Linked DNA regions of Homo sapiens: region 1 is linked to region 2. Evidence: promoter capture Hi-C in 16 types of primary human blood cells and fetal thymus (Javierre and others, 2016). All regions are on one chromosome and are shown on one strand. Each heading gives the region's core, a stretch centred on a gene start or on the middle of the fragment in contact. The rest is flanking DNA. Distances are from core to core; before and after follow the strand shown. Region 1 has its middle 51 kb from the start of HSD17B3-AS1. Region 2 holds the start of FBP1 (fructose-bisphosphatase 1).

What was found. The method cuts DNA at HindIII sites, captures the fragments that hold promoters and counts their contacts. A CHiCAGO score of 5 or more calls a contact.
Region 1: a fragment that was not itself captured here is called in contact with the fragment with the promoter of FBP1 in region 2 in 1 of 17 cell types (total CD8 T cells); the score reaches 5.0 in total CD8 T cells.

What each region holds. Positions count from the first base shown.
Region 1 is chr9:96,194,240-96,197,326 of GRCh38, forward strand. No RefSeq gene overlaps it. Among named protein-coding and RNA genes, the nearest start is that of HSD17B3-AS1, 51 kb to the right of the region's middle. The HindIII fragment of the contact is 380 bases long and covers 1,243-1,622 here.
Region 2 is chr9:94,638,078-94,640,851 of GRCh38, forward strand. It overlaps FBP1 (fructose-bisphosphatase 1), which reads right to left and starts at 1,441. Exons shown (of 7, transcript NM_000507.4): 1 at 1,064-1,441. The coding sequence starts at 1,233. RefSeq lists a silencer at 1,515-1,574. The HindIII fragment of the contact is 3,451 bases long and covers 1-2,444 here.

The DNA.
Region 1 (3,087 bases), core at 183-2,682, 1.6 Mb after region 2:
TTCATGTGACTAGAACAGCTCTAAACTGTAGCCACAACTGCAAACATAATGCCAACCGTAACCTGAATTTTCAGACCTGTCCACTTTGGGGGGGCAACTGTCAGAGGCTCACTTTCCTATGTCCCTAGCTGAGTCCTCTATTTACCAAATCCAAAATCAATGCCCACCAATTCCTATGGAGTTGGGATTTTGTTTTAAGCACGATGGGAAAACAACGGAGTGGTTTAAGTGGGGTCATTAAATTTGATTTCTGTGTTTTACGCTTATCTCTTTTAGAGTTCTGAGGGTCACAGATCTTCGGAAACGGCAAGAGTGACCACAAGGAGCTCAGCAAAGGTCATGGTCAGGTGGTAGGCAAAGGTGGCTTGGACAAGGGCAACAGCAGTAGAAACCATGAAAAATGACCAAATTTAACACACATTTTTAGGGTAGAGCCAGAAGGACTTGCTGTTGGATTGGACATGGAGTGTGAGAGAAGATGAGGAACTGGTGTTTCCAGTCAAAGCACTGAATGGGGAAATCATTAACTGGGCTGGGAAAGGCCGAGGTAGGAGTGGGTTTGGAGGTAAGGAAGGAATTATGTTTTAGACACCACAAGTCTGAGATGCCTATTAGACATCCATACTTTACAGAGAAAATAAATAACATCATCGGTTGGGCACTCCCTCATCTTCTGCTGTCTAATCTAGTGTCCAGAAGCATCTCTGTGCACCTCCCTGTCCCTTCCTATTGCCATGGAGGACGTCCCAGGTATCCACGTCCATCCTCTCTACCTTACCTCCTCTCACCTCCACAAGGCCTTGCCCTCTAGAAACATTCTCCTCTCTGTTTTTTGTTTTTGTTTTTGTTTCAGACAGTCTCACTCTGTTGCCCAGGCTGGAGTGCAGTGGCACGATCTCGGCTCACTGCAACCTCTGCCTCCCAGGTTCAAGCGATTCTCCTGCCTCAGCCTCCTGAGTAGCTGGGATTACAGGCGCCCGCCACCACACCCGGCTAATTTTTGTATTTTTAGTAGAGACGGGGTTTCACTATGTTAGTCAGCTGGTCTTGAACTCTTGACCTCATGATCTGCCCACCTCGGCCTCCTAAAGTGCTGGAATTACAGGCGTAAGCCAGCGTACCTGGCTCTCTTCTCTGTTTTTGGAACGTGATGCTCTCCTGGTTTTACTCTAACCCCCAGCCATCCTTCCAGACCCATTTTGTTGGCTTCTCCTTCCTCTACCAGACCTCTAAGCCTTGGGAAGCTTGAGGACTCACTCATGCTCCAACCTAGTGATATCATCCAGTTTTATGATTCTACATTCCACTTACACCCTAATGCCTCTTAAATTTTTTTCTCTATCACCACTTCTCTCCTGAACTCCAGACTTATCTAGCCTGCTGCCTATTTGACATCTCTCCTCAGATGACTTGGGAAAGAAGAAGGGAATGGAAGAAGTTTGAGGCAAGAAGCAATGTGTGAAATAGTCCGACGACTACAACAAGAGCAAGCATCATGGGATTGCTAGGCGTTGTGCCATTTGATGTTTGAAGTGAAGCCAGTCATTTCTGCTTAGCAATTTTCAATTTTCTCCAGCTGCTCAGGAATAGGAACAAAAAAGGCAGACAACTGGGTCCAATCAAGCTTGGGGTCTTCAAGTAGAGTACTTCTGTTTTGATTACTACACAGCAAACCTCCTCAAAACTTGGTGGCTCTAAAGAACAGCAATTTGATTCTATCTCAAAGGTCAGGAATTCAGGCAGGTCTCAGCTGGATGCTTCTTATGCTCCTCGTAGCATTGGCAGAGGTCACTCAATGGGACTCAGCTGGGAGACAGGCTGGTCTGGAGCATCCAAGACAGCTTTCCTCACGTGTCTGGCACCTTGAGATGGCAGGAAGGCTGGGACCACAAGGACCCCTGAGACTGTTGACTCAAGAGCCTATATAGTCTTTCTAGCATGGAAGTTTCAGGGCAATTGGATACTTACTTGATTGGCTGATTTCCCCAGAGTAAGAATCCCAGAGGGACCAGGGGACAGCTGTGGGGCCATTTCCAAGCTAGTGCTGTTACTTCTAATGCATTATTTTTATTTATTTTATTTTATTTTTTATTTTATTTTATTTTTACTTTTGTAGAGACAGGATCTTGTTATGTTGCCCAGGCTGGTCTCGAACTCCTGGCTTCAAGCAATCCTCCCACCTTGGCCTCCCAAAGTGCTGGGATTATAGGTGTGAGTCAACATGCCCAGCCCACTGCATTCTTTTAGATATAATGAAGTCATATGGCCAGTCCAGATTCAAGGGCAAGGAATCAGACTCCACTTCTCAATGGGAAATAGCAAGGTCACATTGTGGAGGAGTGGGTAGAAGGATCACCTTTGGAAAATACAGCCTGCCACATGCAGGACAGAGGACAGCCAGGAAGGGGCACAGAGGTTTTCTTGAAGGGAATGATAATACACATGACCATGACATCTAACTGGAGAATGAGTTAGGGGAAGCCTTTGACAGGCAAAGTGTAGGGTTTAGTGGGTTACAGCCTTTGATGAGATTGAGGAATCTTAGCAGCCAGGAGACTAGAACAACAGGGAGTGCTTGTCAGAGAATGGAATGCTTGAAAATGAGATTTGGATAAAATGACTTCTGTGAATGATGAGACTCAGTGTGTGACCACGGAAGTGGATGGTTGCAGTGGAGGGGAAAAAGGGTCCTTAGTGCTACAATGTCAAGGACAAATAGCCAAGGAGGTGGATGGGTGCTCTACTTGGATATTGAACTCCCTGTGATTGAGGACATGAGTGGGGGTGAAGAGGGAGGTCAGGCGCTGAAGTCTGTAACCAAGAGGAACCAAGAAGCCAGGCCCAGGAGTCACCATGAGGCTGGCCGGTGCATGGCTAGATAGCTTGGTTTTTGGCCAGGAGAGGGATAGAGACGGTCTAGAAACAGAAATCAGGGATAGGGAGGCCACTCAGCTCCACTGTCAGTCACAAGGGCCTCCACTCCAGCCAGCAGGAGGCTCAGTGCTCAGGGGTAGGCCAGGTCCCACAAATGCCACACTCAACAAGGACGTGAGGAGTGGATTGAGGGTTTGGGGAAATTGGTGTATC
Region 2 (2,774 bases), core at 191-2,690:
TTCCATCTCAAAAAAAAAAAAAAAAAGAAAAGAAAAAGAAAATACCTGTGCACACCAACACAAACGAAAGGATGTTGTGTGACTTACAAAAAACCTCACAAGAAGGGGTCCTTTGAGTCTCCACTCCACTTGACCCCTTGCTACTCACAATGTGATGAGTAGACAAACAGTATCTGATGGGCAGCACCCACCACAGGAGAACTTCTTAGAAATGCAGAATCTCAGGACCTGTCCCAGAGCTATGGAAGGAGGGCACACATCTTACCAAGATCCCCAAATGATTCCTGTGCCCAGTGACGTTCGAGATGCACTCCATAGCGCATTCAGAACCATTCTACAAACCACTTTTGAGCTTTCCACTAATTGGGCAGAGGCTGCACACACCATCATTGCAAATCGATAGGGGTTTTGAAGCCCTGGGTGTTTCCTGTTTCTGGCACAGCATGGCAACTGTCCCAGCAAGGGGCAGCCCACGGGAGCTCCTTTGCACACAAGCCCTGCTGCTCCTAAAGGCTCTGGACACACAGGAGACCTCCCAGCCTGCTTGCGGGGGGGGCGGGGGGGACACTCGCTCCTAACAGGTCTTGTTTCAGGTCAGAGATAACTGGATTAGAAACCTGACTTGGGTCCCTAATTGCAGAAAGAGTGAAGGAGGACAAAGAAGAAATGGGGAAGGAAGGCACCTGAGCTAGCACTTTCCTGTCTGAGGCTAGGGCGGGTATGACGGGCAGGCCAGGTGCCCACACTTGGCCGGCTGAGAGGGGTACGAGGCAGGCTGCTCAGGGCAGAGAAGAGGAATGCAAGATGGAATCAGGTGTACACCTGTGAGACGGACCCCCAGGTGGGCCCCTCCAAGGTCAAGGGAGGAGATGAGGACTTGAGTGAGGCTGAGCCAGCTTCTGGAGAGAGGGGCTACCAGACAGAGAGCGAGAGAGGCGCTCAGACATCAGACGGACAGACAGAGGCTGACGGCAGGAGGCTCAGAGGGCCCAACGTCAGCCCGCCGGGCAGGCTCCCCAGGCAGACAGACAGGACGGGGCCCACCGCCCAAGGCCCGACTCACAGGTGCGCGATGCCCGCCTTGCGCACCGCCGAAGAGATGGCTTTGACTGCTGTGCAGAGCGAGTTGAGCAGCTGGGTCAACTCGCCCGTGCCGCGGGCCTTCCTGCCCTCCTCCATGACGAAGCGGGTCAGGGTGTTGACGTCCGTGTCGAAGGGCGCCTGGTCAGCCATGCTTGAACCGGGTAGAGCGCGGGGCTGCAGGTGCAAGCGGCAGGTGCGGGGCTGCAGGTGCGGGCGGCAAGAGAGGGCAGTAGGCACTGGCCGCAGGTGCGGAGCTGCAGGTGCGGGCGGCAGGTGCGGGCCGCGGGACCTGGCGGGAGGACTGACAGACCGACTGCCGCCCCGAGTGTCCGCAGCGCTCGTGGTGCAACTGGGCCAGGCCAGGCGCCGGCGGGTGAATCGCGGAAACCTTTAGACGCGGGTCGGCCCCCCGCCCCCGGGAACACTCTTGCGCCCCGCCTACCCCGCGGACCAGACCGCGGCTCCGCCTGCTTGGATCTTCAGACAAGGTCGGGGATCCTCCCTGCGGTCTCCCAACCCCCGCCCCCACGCGCCCTGCCGCCCCCTAGTCTTCCTGGGCTGTCGCCCCCCACACACACCCCTCCGTGCCCTCCACCCGCACTGTGGAGCGGGACTCGGGCCATCGGACTCTGCCAGAGAGAAAGCTATGACTGTTTCCTCCAAAATCATAAAACGGAAGTTCAGAAAGGTTAAGTAACTTGCTCAATGCCACCAGCTAGGCAGCGAAACCCGCAGCCAGTCCACATGGCCTGGCTTTAGCTCTGCAGCTCCTGCCCCGTGTGGCTGCCTGCCCCCGCCCCCTGCCCAAGCCCCGTCCACTCTGCCTGGCCTGTCACCTGGCCCTTCTGTCCCCGCTAGGAGACACAGAGTCCCCGTTTCTCACCCATCTGAGGGCCCACGTCTGAATCCTTAATCCAGGCCTCTTCTCAAGATTCCTAGAATTCGAGAGCTATTGAGTATTTGAATTTCCAAGATGTGAGTCTCGCCCGGAAGTTTCCCGGAAAACGGTCGCTGACACAGAGTCCTCGGCTACCACACAAAGGCCAGAGGGCTCCACCGCCCGCATCCTGACCCCCTGGTAGCCACAATGCTGCAATTGATGTGCTGATTCACGAAACAACACCTATTGAGCACCTGCTGTGCTGAACACTGTCCTACCTTCCAGGGGTGGAGCCTGATCCAAACAGACAAAACTCCTGCCCTTTTCGAGTGTACGTTTTCACAGAGAAACAGTAAAAATAAATATATAAACAATAGATTAGTTTGTTACATAAGCCATAAGTACCATAGAGAGAAACGAAATAGAAAAGGAAGACACGGAATGTGGAGGGGAGAAGAGGGTGAGCAGAGGCCTCAGTAAAAGCTTCTCTGAGAAAGGGATATGTGAGCAAAGAGGTGAAGGATGCAACGCGCCGGTGGAGATGGGAAGGAGAGCGGTTTCCTCACCGGGAGAGCCAGTGCACAGGCCCTGGGGTAGGAGACCATGTTTCAGGTTCAGGGAATGGCCAGGAGACCGGTGGAGCTGAAATAGAGCTAGCAAGGGTCAGAGGTGGAGGAGATAAGGCCAGCGGGAGGATGCAGAGGTGAGGTCTAGAGGGCCAAGTGAGGTTTGACTTTGACTAGGAGGAACCCACTGGAGAGTTTGGAGAAGAAGAGAGGCATGGTCTACCCTGTGTCTTCATACTGCGGCT